3 separate regions of the Homo sapiens genome follow, and all the other regions are linked to region 1. Evidence: promoter capture Hi-C in human tissues and cell types (Jung and others, 2019). All regions are on one chromosome and are shown on one strand. Each heading gives the region's core, a stretch centred on a gene start or on the middle of the fragment in contact. The rest is flanking DNA. Distances are from core to core; before and after follow the strand shown.

Region 1 (4,698 bases), core at 1,012-3,511:
CGGGACCTCAGAGTGGGGGCAGGCAGAAGGGAGAACCAGCTCAAGACATTTTGGAGGATCTGGCCCTGGGGTTCTTCAGAGAACACCCTCTAGGGGCTTTGGGGACATGGCCTGTCCCCACATCCAGCACTTGCCTCCGCCATGGTCACTCGGCAGCCCTTTTCCCAGGAGAAGACACCTCTGGGAGCCTGCTCAGTGCTTGTCCTGCCATCCTGTGTCCTGGGACTGAGGGTTACTCCAGTTGCTCTGTGTTGCATACTCTCCCCCGCAAGCCTGTGTATGAAGAATTGTCCCCTGGCTTCCAGCAGGCCATGGCTGGCTGTTTTGTGACTGTTACATTGTGCAGGGGTAATTATTAGCGTGGCTTTTACACTTGCGTGTGACTGATGATTGGGGGGTGGGGGTACGGTGATGGGCCTGGGACTAGCTGTAGATTCCAGGAACAGGGACCCTGTAGATCCCAACTAGACTTCTGTGTCTGAGATTTGCAGAAGTGGCCAGGACTGGGGCTAGGATGAGGTTCTAGAATGGTGAGCCTCTGGGGCCCTAACCAGGTGGAGCATGCCATCTATGCCGGTGGCCGCTTAATGTACTCTGTTAAGTCAAATGAGCTCTTGTTCATCCCTCCTGACCCGCTGCTCTGCATACCCTGGTGTTGAGCCTTCTGCCTGCGTTAACCAGTCCAGAATGCCACCATCTTCTCTTTCTGCCCCACTTCTCCTCAGCCCCTTCTTGCTGAGTTTTCCCCCATGGTAACCTATCCCTGCCCCCAACACATATACCTAGGGACCTCCAAAGCCCTCACTTGCCCACCTGTTCCTTCTCACATGCACAGCCATCACGAGGGTTACTGCATGGCACCCTTCATTGGGCAGATGGGAAAGCCAAGGCTCAGAGAAGTGGTACAGTCTCTTCAAAGTTCCAGGCACCTGTGGTTTCCCACAGGACCAGAAACAGGAATGGGGTCTGAACCCACCCGCAGAGCGGTCTCAGTAGTCTGTAAAATACAGATGATGTCCCTATTCTCAAGATTACTGTGGGAGAACAATTGCAGAAAGTGTATCGCACTAGACCCGCCTCCCCGTTCTGATTAATGCGGCCCCGGGGCTTGACCCCAGGGGTCCCCCCACATGCTCACCTCCCCCGTGGTGAACTGAGGTCGCCACACACCCAGCCTCCTGTGTGGGAGGGGTGAGCCCAGCAGTGATTGAGAGGCGGAAAGGGGAATGGGGGGTGCTCTCCGTCCTCTGGGCCCCAGTCAGGATATGGCCGTTCTGGGTCCACCCCGACCCACTGGGTGGAAACAGGAAATAAGTGAGACCTGGTGTGCACTGGGTCTACGCCTGGCTCCACGGCTGATAAGGGCCATTGTGTGGCCGCCGGGGATGAGCCTGCTCTGGATAGATGTGCTTCCCGGAGGAAGGAAGGAAGGCTTGCTAGCTTTTCCGGGGCGGGGGAAGCTGTGGGGAGAGAGAAGGGTGCCGGGGGGAAGGCCCCTGCCTATGGGGCTGTCGGTGCCAGCACACACCCACGGGACTCAGCCCTTCCTATGCCAGCCTCTCCCTCTGGAAAGGTCTGTTTCCCCTATCCACTTCCCTGTTCTTACTTCCTATAAGGAATGGCTGGAGACTGGAGGGCTCAGTCTCAGGCCAGGAAAGTGTCAGCTGTGATTTAGCAACAATAAAAATAGAAAAGCAGGAACATCAGGGGTGGGGGTCACCTGGGGGTACTGTTGAAACGCAAGGGATGAACAGGGCTAGAGGTTGCCCACACCCAGGGAACCCAGGAACTAACCTCACAAGCTCTGAGGCTCAGAGGAGGGTAAGCCAAGAGCTTCCTCACAGCGGGACAGCCCCCTGTCCGGGCCCTGCATGACCAGGCCCCAGCAGCCCTGGTCTCTCAAACTCATGGTGGGGGCTCACCTGCTGTGGGGGGCAGCCCCGTTGAGGGGATGTGCAGGAAAGCCAGTGCCTACTAACGGGTCCTCTTGGCCTAGGGGAGGGCATGCCGTCTGGTTTGGGGAGTGGGCCCCGTGCTCTCTAGGTGGTACCAGAGAGTGGGCAGGAGGAGGGGCCCAGCCATAGAGCTGCCGTGGGGATGGGGGGAAGGGGAAAGGCGTCCTAGCCTTTGACCTGGAGCCCAGGGTCCCCCATGGGTGGCTGCATCGGCTCCTCTGGTTACCTGGGACAACAGGCATTTCCTCCATCCCCAGCCCCTCCTCTTCCTGCTCCAACCATCCGGGCCAAGAGGCCTCCCAGTCAGACCTGGACGGCTCCAGCCGTGTCCTGAGGAGCTGGACCAGCCACATCCCCTGGGGCTGCAGTTGAAGCAGAACCAAGTGGCCATCCCGGCGTTAGACCGTAGGTTCCTGGTCCCGGAGTGGTCGGAGCCCGCCAGTGGGCAGGCAGCTCTTGCTCACAGGCCGCGGTGCCCAGGCCGCTGGCTCTCCGCAGGGCGGAATGGCGCTGCAAGTGGAGCTGGTACCCACCGGGGAGATCATCCGCGTGGTTCATCCCCACAGGCCCTGCAAGCTTGTAAGCTGGGATGCTCTGGGCTGGGAGGAGGGTGGGAGCGTCTCCCCAAGGCCGGGCAGCCCCTCTCAGGCGAGCCCTCGGGCAAGAGCTGAGCAGCGGGGAGGGGTTCCGATCCTTGGCGGGGCCAGAACAGACTGAACAAGACGGGGTGAGTGGAAGAGTAAGGATGCAAGGGCCACTAGCAGCAGGATTTTTGGAAGTGGAGGTCTGGGCTTGACTCTTCCCCGGCTTCCCGAACCTCAGTGGGCAGAACCGTGAATACTGGGCACAAAAGGCAAGTGCCGGCTGCTGTGAGGTCGAAGGACCAGGGCATGGAAGCTCCAGGCTCAGTCAACGCCCCGCTCCTCTCCAGTCCGCAGGGCTGGGACCGCCCAAGACTCAGAACAGAAGGACGGTGTGGGAGGTGGGTGAAGGGTCACGGGTGGGTAGAAACGGGGGAGCGCGGCCCTGGCCCGGCCCGCAGGAAGGGGCTGGAGATGCAAAGGGCCCGGAGGAGGGAGAAAGTCGGGCGCCCCCACGCCCCCAGCAGCGCGGCGGGGAGCCGGGTCTTCGGCCGGAGGGGCGCGCGCGTGTTCGCTGTGGCCCCGGGAACGGGCCGAGGCGGGGGCCGCACGCACCGAGGCTTCGCGGACGCGGCCGGGGCTGAGGCGGGGCGGGGCGGGGCCGGAGGGTGCGCGGCCCTGCCCGGGATGACGACAGGCTGCGGCCCGGCCCCCGGCGGGCCCTGGGCGGGGAGAGTGCGCCCGGGCCGCGGATCCCCAAGCCCGCCACGCCGCCCAGCCCGGCCCCGCCCGCGCCGGAAGAGCCACGCCGGTGGGTACTCGGGGCGCGGGGACGGCGGCCGCGGGGGGCGGGTGTGGGGAGCGGGCGGCCGGGCCGGGAGCCGCCGTGCACGAGGCAGGGGTCACGGCCGGGGATCGCTGGGGCCGAAGAACGGCCGCGTGGACCCGTGCGGGGGGGGGGGGTCCCACGACCCGGAGGCGCCGGCGCAGCCTGGTGGAGACTTAGATTTACCTGCGGGGAGCGGGAGGCGGGGAAGAGCGGCCTGGGCTGCAGGACCCAGGACCCTGCGCGCCCTTCGGGCCCCGCCCGCAGCCCTGCTCCGCCTCTGGGTTCCGGAGAAGCCGCCTAAACCCGCCCCTTCCCGTTCTCCGCCCCTGGGGCCCAGCGCGCCCCGAGTGTGACGGGCGGGGGGCTCCGGGGTGGCCGGAGAAGGAGGATGGCCACGCGGCCCTCAGTCCTCACGCTCCGGCCTCCCGCGCACACGCCTGGCTCTGAGATTCATTCATTCATCCAGGGGTCCGGGAAGGGGTGACTGAGCCCCACCGTGTGCCTCGCTGCGTGTAGGGAGTGGGAGCCGTCTCCTGGGAGGGACTGACAAGGAAACAGCTGATTCCTGCGGGGTGCGATAAGGAGGCGCTGCGTGTTTGGGAGAATCAGGAAGGGGTTCTGGAGGAGGTGACACCTGAGCCGAGTCTCAGTGAGGTGGGCAGGGAGAGTGCCCCGGGCTGGGGAAGCCGCAGGTGCAGGCACTGAAGCTTGGACTGGCTGGCGACGGTGCGAAGGCCCCCTCCTGGGGGGAGGGGTGGGGGGAGAGGGGACTGGAGCGGGCCATCTGGCACATCGGAATGCAGGAGCAGTGGGGTAAACTGGGGACAGCAGGGGGGTCTCGGGAGTTCATAGGCAGGGTCCTGGTAAGCAGCAGTGAGTGTGAATCATGGGCCTGGCATATGGAGGGTGTCCTAAACCTTCACTCTATGAACATGAGGTGTTGATTTGATTTGTGTTGCCCCAGAGGAAATGGATTGGTAGGAGGAAGGCAAGGAGGCCAGTTAGGCTGCTGTCTTGGCCCAGGTAAGGAGCAGTGATGGAGGTGAGGTTTTTGTTTGTTTTTGTTGTTGTTTTGTTTTGTTTTGAGATGGAGTCTCGCTCTGTTGCCCAGGATGGAATGCAGTGGTGCGACCTCTGCTCACTGCAACCTCCACCTGCCGGGTTCAAGCTATTCTCCTGCCTCAGCCTCCTGAGTAGCTGGGATTACAGGTGTGTGCCACCGCGCCCAGCTAATTTTTTTTTTTTTTTAGTAGAGACGGGGTTTCACCGTGTTAGCCAGGATGGTCTCAATCTCCTGACCTTGTGATCCACCTGCCTAGGCCTACCAAAGTGC
Region 2 (4,698 bases), core at 1,125-3,624, 240 kb before region 1:
GTGATGGGGAACGTGATGGGGCAGTACCCAACAGGCAGGAGAAGGGCACGTAGATTGTGTATGCCATCTCCAGGGTGAACACCTTCTGCAGCTCGTCCAGCAGGGCGGGGTCCACGGGCCGCTGCTGCCCATCAGAGAAGACCACCTGTGGCAGCTGGCCCTCACCACGGCCCGCAGGGTCCAGCTTCAGATCCTATGAGCAAGACACCCAGGGGGTCAGCCGGGTCCACAGCTCCCACCCTGGCCCACCCTGGTCCTCGCCACGGCCCGCGGAGTCCAGCTTCAGATCCTATGAGCAAGATGCCCAGGGGGTCACCCAGGTCCACAGCCCCCGCCCCAGCCCGCCCTGGCCCAGCAGATCTGCCCACCTGTTGCCGAAGCTCATGCAGCTGAGAGAAGACCTGGAAAAAGGTGGCCACGGGCTCGCTCAGGTGCTGCTGGACCATCTCCTGTCCAATGCGCAGGCAGATGAGGGCGATGAGGCTGATGGTTTTCACACACAGGATGGTCCGAGCCTGGGCCCCACTTGGGAACCTGGAAACAGAGCTCATGAGCTCCAGCCCGCCGTTCTGCAGGACTTGACCAGAATCTAGCAAAATCTTTATTTATTTTTATTTTTATTGAGATGGAGTCTTGCTCTGTCATCCAGGCTGGAGTGCAGTGGTGCGATCTCGGCTCACTGCAACCTCTGCCTCCCGGGTTCAAGCGATTCTCCTGCCTCAGTCTCCCGAGTAGCTGGGACTACAGGCATGAGCCACCATACCCGGCTAATTTTTTTTGTATTTTTAGTAGAGACAGGGTTTTGCCATATTGGCCAGGCTGGTCTCGAACTCCTGACCTCAAGCGATCCACCCACCTTGGCCTCCCAAAGTGCTGGGATTACAGGCATGAGCCACAGCACCCAGCATATATATATACTTTTTTTTTTTTTTGAGACAGAGTCTTGCTCTGTCGCCTAGGCTGCAGTACAATGGCGTGATCTCAGCTCACTGCAACCTCCGCTTCCTGGGTTCAAGCAATTCTCCCGCCTCAGCCTCCTGAGAACCTGGGATTGCAGCCTCCCGAGAACCTGGGATTGCAGGCACCTGCTGCCATGCCCAGCGAAGATTTTGTATTTTTAGTGGAGACGGGGTTTCACCATGTTGGCCAGGTGGGTCTCAAACTCCTGACCTCGTGATCCACCCGCCTTGGCCCCCCAAAGTGCTGGGATTACAGGGGTGAGACACCACGCTCGGCCTTTATATATATTTTTAGAGAGGGGGTCTCATTTTGTTGCCCAGGCTGGTCTTGAACTCCTGGGCTCAAGCAATCTTCCCGCCTCAGCCTCTCAAAGTGCTGGGATTACAGGCATGAGCCACCGTGCCCGGACATATCAAAAGCTTTAAATGAAAGAGCTCCAAGACCAACTGGTCCAAACCAGATGAGGAAACTGAGGCACAGGAAAAGGGTGTGGTTTGCTCAGGGTCACACAGCCGGGATCAAAACCAGGACTCTTGACACCCAGTCCAGTGTTACGTCCTCTCCCCTGAGCTTCCCACCCCCTCCTGGGCAGCCCCTCCGCTGGGCCGGTCCCCCTACATCAGCTGGGGCAGAGGCCTACCCCGTGACGAGGGAGGTGAGGAAGCTGAGCACGGGCAGCAGGACCTCATGGCTGATCCGGGGCAGGATGTCCATGAGTGTGGTGTCTGAGAGGTACACGATGATCTTCTGAGTCAGCGTCACCGCGGCCAGCAGCCCCGCCTCCTTACGGCTGTTCAGTCGGCTGGGGCCTGAGGCACTCCCTGGGGCCACCTAGAGCCACCGAGCAGATGAGGGCCGGGCAGCCCCACAGACCCCCTGGCACCAAGAGAGCCCGGGCCGGCCCTCAGGTCCTCAGCCTTCCCAGCCCCGGGCCTGCCAAACCAGCGACTGACCAGGTAGCTGATGTAGGGCAGGTACTGGTAGGTGAGGACAGGCTCCCCATACAGGCGGGCGATGTGGAGGAGGCAGCTGAGCACAGGCCCTGACACGATGTCGCCCAGGACCGGCCTCTTCTGGTAGATGTTGCCGGCGCTCAGCGGTGGGCTCTCGCCACTGCTCACTGTGAACTGCTGCCGAGTGGGTCCTGCCACGGAAGGGCCAGCAGCCCTGAGTCGCCAGTGGAGGGCCGGGGGTAGCCTGGCCCTGCAGGGCTGTGCTGGCCGCTTGAGCTCACTCTAGCTGGGGGCCCAGCCTGGCCCTACCCAAGGCTGGCACTTAGACTGGGACCCAGCACCTGGCCGGGGGGTGGTTTGAGGGAGGGGTGGGAAGGATCCCCGCCGGAGAGCGCTGAAGCTAGGCAGAGGGCCTGGGAGAAAGCCTCATCTCCAGCACTGACCGCAGGCCTCCTTACCAACATAACAAGACGTCAGCAGGCGGAGCAGGTTCCGGGCCACGTGGCGAGAGGCCACTGTGGGGCCGAGCTTGGCAGACAGCCAGCGGACCATCTTGCAGGCTGTATCTGCGGGGTGGGAGCAGGCCCTGAGCTCCTCAGATAACAGGGGCTCATCACCCCTCCCACCCCACCCCACGGCACCCCACTCAACCACCTGCGGCTGCAGCTCTGCCAAGAGCCCAGCCCGGGCCGGCTGTCCCACACCACCCCCTCCACGTAACAGCGGCAGAGGTGCCCAGGCCCTGGCCTGTGGGACTCTGGCTGCCGCAGGTTCCTCTCCACAGGCACGACCCGCAGGAAGTTAGCCTGCCCGTGGGTCTTCTGAAACTCCTTAACAAGGCCTGGCCCGGCCCTGGCCACCTTCCCTCTGGCCTCTCTTCCCTCCACTCCCTCGGTCTCGCCATAACGGCCTTTCCCTGCTTCTCTTCTTCTTCTTCTTCTTTTTTTTTTTTTTTGAGACAGAGTCTCGCACTGTTGCCCAGGCTGGAGTGCAATGGCACAATCTCAGTTCATTGCAACCTCCACCTTCCACCGCCCTGACTCTCCTCCTTGAACCTCCGGGTTCAAGCGATTCTCCTGCCTCAGCCTTCCAAATAGCTGAGATTACAGGCACCCTCCACCATGCCCAGCTAAGTTTTTGTATTTTTAGTAGAGATGGGGTTTCACCATATTGGCCAGGATGGTCTCAATCTCCTGACCTTGTGATCCATCCGCCTCAGCCTCCCAAAGTGCTGGGATTACAGGCGTGAAGCACCGCGCCCGGTCCCCCGCTTCTCTTCTTTAATGGAACATGACAGCCTCAGAGCCTCACACATGCTGTTCCCTCAGCCTTCAGACTTTCTTTTTGCCCATTTTTGTCTACCTTCTTCCTACTCCTCCTTGAACCTCAACTGTCTCTCCTTTTAAGGAAGCCTGCTCTGACCCTTGAAAACTAGATGTAAAAGCACCATTTTTTTTTTCTTTTTTGAGACGGAGTCCCGCTCTGTTGCCCAAGCTGCAGTGCAGTGGTGTGATCTCAGCTCACTGCAACCTCCACCTCCTGGGTTCAAGTAATTCTCCTGCCTCAGCCTCCTGAATAGCTGGGATTACAGGTGCCCGCCACCACGCCTGGCTAATTTTTGTATTTTTAGTAGAGATGGGGTTTCACCATGTTGGCCAGGCTGGTCTCGAACTCCTAACCTCAAGTGATCCTCCTGCCTCGGCCTCCCAAAGTGCTGGGATTAGAGGCGTGAGCCACGGCGCCCGGCCGAAAAGCTCCATGTTGCACTCCCTCCTAGGAATGCAGCCATGTTCTTTATCGCACTAACATAATACACTTGCTTAAGACTGTCTGCACTGCGGCATCTCGTCTGCTGGGTGTGAGCTCTGTGAAGGCAGGCCTACATTTGTGTTGCCGGTGGTCCTGGCTCGATCCACTGCTTGGCACAGAGTAGGTGCTCTGCCAGTGTGCAGGGAGAAGCAGGAGCTGTTTTTTTGTTTTGTTTTGTTTTTTTGAGATGGAGTCTCGCTCTGTCGCCCAGGCTGGAGTGCAGTGGTGCGATCTCGGCTCACTGCAAGCTCCGCCTCCCGGGTTCACGCCATTCTCCTGCCTCAGCCTTCCGAGTAGCTGGGACTACAGGTGCCTGCCCCCACGCCCGGCTATTTTTTTGTATTTTTAGTAGAGACGGGGTTTCACCTTGTTATTAGGATGGTCTCGATCTCCTGACCTTGTGATCCGCCCGCCTCAGCCTCCCAAAGTGCTGGGAATACAGGCGTGAACCACTGTGCTCGGCCAGCAGGAGGTGTTTTTGACCAACACCTCCCAGACCTGGGAACTTACCAAGGAGGATCTTCTGTTCTTTGCCTTCTGACTGCTCAGGCAGTGCCTCCTCCTCTTCTTCTCCATCTCCCCCACTGCCGCCGGCCACAACCGTCTCCATGGACAGCACCGTGTCAGACAGAGTGAGCTCAGATGCCCCGGTGACCTCCTCCTGCTCCCCCTCCTCCTCCTCTAGCACCACGCAGCTGTCCTCCTCCTCCTCTTCCTCCTCGGAGCCCTCGCTTTGCTTCAAGTCCTGGCTGCTGTCACCTGATCGAAGGCTGCTCTTGTCCACGGGGGCACCCCCCTCGTCTGGAGCCCGCTCCTCACCCAGGGAGGTCTCGCTGGTGCTGCTCTTGTCACTCAGCCGGCCCAGGCTCACAGCCTCAGCCTCCTGGGGCTGGGGAGACTCAGTCACATAGAGCCCGGCTTGGAAGTCCTCTGTCTCAGGGAGGTCAGCCTGGTCGTGGAAGCTGACGCCAGACGT
Region 3 (4,698 bases), core at 617-3,116, 150 kb before region 1:
TTGCCTTGCCTGCCATCCATTCTGCCTGACAACACTGCCTCTCCACATTCATTCTTCAAGTTCCTGTCTTGGCTGGGTCTGTTTATTCTTACGGGGGTGAAACTGTAGCCGCGGCTGTGTCAGGGCCTGCTGTGTGTCAAGCTATAAAATAAACCCTTGGCAGGGCGCGGTGGCTCACGCCTGTAATCCCAGCACTTTGAGAGGCTAAGGTGGGTAGATCACCTGAGGTCAGGAGTTCGAGACCAGCGTGGCCAACATGGTGAAACTCCGTCTCTACTAAAAATACAAAAATTAGCCGGGCATGGTGGCATGTGCCTATAATCCCAGCTACTCAGGAGGCTGCGGCAGGAGAATCGCTTGAACTTGGGAGGCGGAGGTTGCAGTGAGCTGAGATCGCACCACTGCACTCCAGCCTGGGCGACAGAGTGAGACCCTGTCTCAAAAAAAAAAAAATTAAAAATTAAAGGCTCGACATCCTGCATCTCCCCAGGGTTGCCTTCTCTCCAGCCCCGGGGGCCCTGCAGTCCCTCCATCCCCCCTGCTGGATTCCTGTTGTCCCTCAGGGCCTTGATCAATGGCCCTCACTTCTCCTCTCTCCTCTGTCTCAGTGAGGATGAGGCTGGCCCATGGATCCTGCTCTCCGATGACAAGGGAGACCATCCCCCACCCCCGGAGTCCAAAATACAGAGTTTGTATGTTGGGGAAAGGGGAAAGGCAAGAGTGTGGGGAGGGAGGAAGGGCCCTGGCTGGTCCTTCTCAGGATCCCCTTTCCCGCTTCTCTGCCCGTCACCCTGCTGTGCTTGGCTCTAAGCACACCGTCCCCTCCTGCTTCTCTGGCCCTGGCCCCCATCACCTTCACACTCCCTCAGGCTGCCCTTTCTTCCCCCTCTCCCCTTTTCTCACCATCCCCTGCCCTCACCCATATCCTTGACCTCTCTGGCTTCCTGGCTCAAAGTGCCTCTGGCTGTCTCTCTCCAGCTTTGGCCTATGGTATCGGGGTAAAGCTGAATCCTCTGAGGATGAGACCAGCAGCCCTGCACCCAGCAAGCTAGGGGGAGAAGAGGAGGCCCAACCACAGTCTCCAGCTCCTGATCCGCCCTGTTCTGCCCTCCACGAACACCTTTGTCTGGGGGCCTCAGCCGCCCCAGAGGCCTGACTTAGGGGTCTGGCTGTGGAAGGATGTGTGGCCTCAAATGAGGACAGGGCTCCCGCCTTCACAGCCCTCGCCAGGGGTCTGCCCCAATCCTGGCCTGCATCAGGGCAGGACGGGGTCTCAGCCCGCCTCCCTCTCTACGTCTCTGTACCGAGCCTCTGGGGCCAGATATAAGAGTGCCTCTCTGAGTCTCAGTTTCCCCATCCATGAAATGAGAGCTGACTGCCTAGCTCCCAGGGCTTTGTGCAGACGGCCTGAGCTCATGTAATAAAGAACTGCCCGTAATACACAGAAACTGTTCCTCGCCTGTCTGTCCATGTCTGTGCCACCTCCCAACCCTGCCAGGAGCAGAGGCAGGCTGAGGGGTCCTCGCTGGTCTCCTTGCTCAGTCACTGGGTGGGGTGGCTTCTTGCAGCTCAGGCCTTGCTTTGGGAGTGTGGCCTGATGGAAAGCCGTGGCTCCCAGCCTCAGTCCACCCCCTTCCCTGGCCCCGGCACCCAGGGACCTGCAACTTCATTCTTCTGGCCCTTCCAGGCCCAGGCCAGTCAGCCCTGCCATTGCCTTTCTTTCCCTTTCTTTTTTTGAGTGTCAGTCTTTCCAGCCACCCCCTCCCTCTCAGGGAGGTGCCTCGTGGCAGCCCGCCCCTCCGGCCTGGTTTCCTCAGGAAAAGCCCTGAGAGGAAGCAGGGAGGGGGTTGGGAGCTGTGGGGGCCAGACGAACCCGAGCGCTCCCACCGAGCTGCCTGCCATGGGGCTGGGGCTGCTGCTCCCGCTGCTGCTGCTCTGGACTCGGGGGACTCAGGGGTCCGAGCTGGACCCCAAAGGGCAGCACGTCTGTGTGGCCAGCAGGTGGGTCTCGTGGGAGTCTGATGCGTGTGGCCAGCAGGTGGGTCTCGTGGGAGTCTGATGCGGGTGGCTGAACCGGTGTTGAGGCCGTTAGGGGAAGGAGGAGACTAGGAAGGGGGCTTAGGCTGAAAGGAAGGGACTGCTGATGGCGGTCTGGCAGGTAGTGGCCAGCCAGGGCAGATGGTGGAAGGGTCAGGGAAGGAGAGGGGAGGGGCTGGGGACCCTAGCTGTAAAGATCCATTAGGCCTCCCCAGGGGGCTAAGGCAGCCTCCCCCACTGCAGCCAGAGACAGTGATCCACCTTCCTCAGGGCCAGGCTGCACCCCCCACCATGTCCGGCTGACCCCTTTTTGCCCCACAGCCCCTCTGCTGAGCTGCAGTGCTGCGCAGGCTGGAGGCAGAAGGATCAAGAATGCACCATCCGTGAGTAGCCAGGACAGACCCTCAGCCAAGGAGAAGGGAGGCCGTAGCCCAGTGACAACCCTTCCTTCCTACCCCATGGGGCCTGCCCCTCCTGATACCAGGAGTCAGGGTTTCTCCTGTGACGCACCCCCAGGCCTGAAGGGGCACCTCTTGAGGAGGCATGGCCCCTGGAGCCAGTGAGAGGGCAGGGGTGTCCCCTGGTCCTGCTCCCGTCTTTCCAACCTGGGTGGGGTGTCTTTCAGCCATCTGTGAGGGGCCGGACGCCTGCCAGAAAGACGAGGTGTGTGTGAAGCCGGGCCTCTGTCGATGCAAGCCTGGATTCTTTGGGGCCCACTGCAGCTCCCGTGAGTCTCAAGGGCCAGATGAAGTTGCTGGGCAGAGCTGGGTACGGGGGCAGTGGTGTGGGAGCAGGCGAGGCAGGTAGCCATGCAGCCTCAGGACAGCAGGGCCAGAATCCCCCCCAGCTTCACTGAGGAATTGCGGTCCAGAGACAGGAAGTGACACACACTCCCGGGAGATGACCTGAGTCACCGGGTTTTTACCCACATCCACAAAGCACTGCCCACCTGAGCATCTTCCTCTTCCACTTCTCAGAAAACCTGTGATTCCCCTTCATTGTAAAATGAGTGTATTACTTGCCTTTCCCACATATACCTTATACATGGGCAGTGGATGGAAGGGGGCCCCTGGCTGGGCTCTCTGCCCTCTCTGGCAGAAAGAGAGGGAAGGGAAAGGGGTTGGGAAGCAGGAGAGCCAGAGGGTGGGCATCAGGAATCAAGGAATCACTAGGGGAAAGGTGGCTTCTCCCGACACCCTGGCGGGCAGTATCCAGGCCTGAGATCAGGAGAAAGCCAGCTCTCCTCCAGCCCAGCAGAGATCCATCTCGGCAGGGAGGAGCAGGCATGGAGGAAGGCCCACCAACCTCGGTGCCACGCTCTGGGCAAGTCCCCTGCCCACTCAGGATCTCTGAGTGTGTTCTGGAATGTGAAGTGGCAGGCTGAGCCTCCCACTAATGGCTAAGGGTTTTCTGTAGGTCAGAGCGGAGCAGGAAGTGAGTGTTGCCCAGGACAGGCTGCCGGATGTTCTGAGGGTCTGTCCCCGGCTCTTGGAGGATGGGCCCAGCGCCCCTTTTCCTTGAGGAAGGGGACGCAGGGTAAGGGTCTGCGCGCGGCCCTGAGCCCGCTGACCCCTCCCGTCCCCACCCCCGCAGGCTGCCCGGGCCAGTACTGGGGCCCCGACTGCCGTGAGAGCTGCCCCTGCCACCCGCACGGCCAGTGCGAGCCAGCCACGGGCGCGTGCCAGTGCCAGGCCGACCGCTGGGGAGCCCGCTGCGAGTTCCCGTGCGCCTGCGGCCCCCACGGGCGCTGCGACCCCGCGACCGGCGTGTGCCACTGCGAACCCGGCTGGTGGTCGTCCACGTGCCGCCGCCCGTGCCAGTGCAACACCGCGGCGGCGCGCTGCGAGCAGGCCACGGGCGCCTGCGTGTGCAAGCCGGGCTGGTGGGGGCGCCGCTGCAGCTTCCGCTGCAACTGCCACGGCTCCCCGTGCGAGCAGGACTCCGGCCGCTGCGCCTGCCGGCCGGGCTGGTGGGGTCCCGAATGCCAGCAGCAGTGCGAGTGTGTGCGGGGCCGCTGCAGCGCCGCCTCCGGCGAGTGCACCTGCCCGCCCGGCTTCCGCGGAGCGCGCTGCGAGCTGCCCTGCCCGGCAGGCAGCCACGGGGTGCAGTGCGCACACAGGTGAGCGGGCGGGGCGGGGACAGGTGGGCTGGCGGGGCGGGGGCGGACACAAGTGAGCAGGCGGGGCGGGGCGGAGACAGGGGGGCGGGGCGGAGACAGGGGGCGGGGCGAAGACAGGTGGGCGGGGCGGACACCGGTGGGCGGGGCGGACACCGGTGGGCGGGGCGGGCACCGGTGGGCGGGGCGGACACCGGTGGGCGGGGAGGGGGCGGGGTGGAAACTGGTGAGCGGGCAGGGTGGGGGCGGGGCGGGCACAGGTGAGCGGTCGGGGGAGGGGGCGGAGGCGGACACAGGTGAGCGAGGCTGCGCGGAGACCTGTGAGCGGGCGGGGCGGAGCGGAGACAGGTGGCCGCGGCGGGGCGCCGGGAGGAGGGGTCAGGGCTTCGCGGTGCTCCTCTCAAAAAACATACAAAGCAGAGGAACGAGAAAGGGGAAAAGTCGGATAGGTGGGGTGGCTCACACCTGTAATCCCAGCACTTTGGGAGGCTGAGGCGGGTGCATCACCTGAGGTCAGGAGTTCGAGACCATCCTGGCCAACATGC

What was found. The method cuts DNA at HindIII sites, captures the fragments that hold promoters and counts their contacts. A contact is called where the count stands out against the background at its distance.
Region 2: a contact is called between a fragment that was not itself captured here and the fragment with the promoter of MYO1C in region 1, in 1 of the 25 tissues and cell types used here (dorsolateral prefrontal cortex).
Region 3: the fragment with the promoter of SCARF1 here is called in contact with the fragment with the promoter of MYO1C in region 1 in 1 of the 25 tissues and cell types used here (pancreas).

Annotation. Positions count from the first base shown.
Region 1 is chr17:1,490,249-1,494,946 of GRCh38, reverse strand. MYO1C (myosin IC) reads left to right here and starts at 2,261. Exons shown (of 32, transcript NM_001080779.2): 1 at 2,261-2,534. The coding sequence starts at 2,460. It overlaps LOC105371483 (a long non-coding RNA gene), which reads right to left and starts at 2,160. Exons shown (of 2, transcript XR_934145.4): 1 at 1,322-2,160; 2 at 253-997. It overlaps INPP5K (inositol polyphosphate-5-phosphatase K), which reads left to right. Exons shown (of 12, transcript NM_016532.4): 12 at 1-370. RefSeq lists silencers at 3,006-3,405, 3,486-3,925 and an enhancer at 3,210-3,929. The HindIII fragment of the contact is 10,403 bases long and covers 1-3,302 here.
Region 2 is chr17:1,728,161-1,732,858 of GRCh38, reverse strand. It overlaps WDR81 (WD repeat domain 81), which reads right to left. Exons shown (of 10, transcript NM_001163809.2): 1 at 4,233-4,698; 2 at 2,372-2,479; 3 at 1,914-2,104; 4 at 1,601-1,791; 5 at 369-534; 6 at 28-193. Among named protein-coding and RNA genes, the nearest start is that of WDR81, 5.8 kb to the right of the region's middle. The HindIII fragment of the contact is 3,649 bases long and covers 550-4,198 here.
Region 3 is chr17:1,642,900-1,647,597 of GRCh38, reverse strand. It overlaps SCARF1 (scavenger receptor class F member 1), which reads left to right and starts at 1,866. Exons shown (of 11, transcript NM_003693.4): 1 at 1,866-2,001; 2 at 2,359-2,420; 3 at 2,663-2,764; 4 at 3,631-4,156. The coding sequence starts at 1,901. It overlaps RILP (Rab interacting lysosomal protein), which reads left to right. Exons shown (of 8, transcript NM_031430.3): 7 at 609-692; 8 at 979-1,448. The coding sequence ends at 1,156. The HindIII fragment of the contact is 19,188 bases long and covers 1-4,698 here.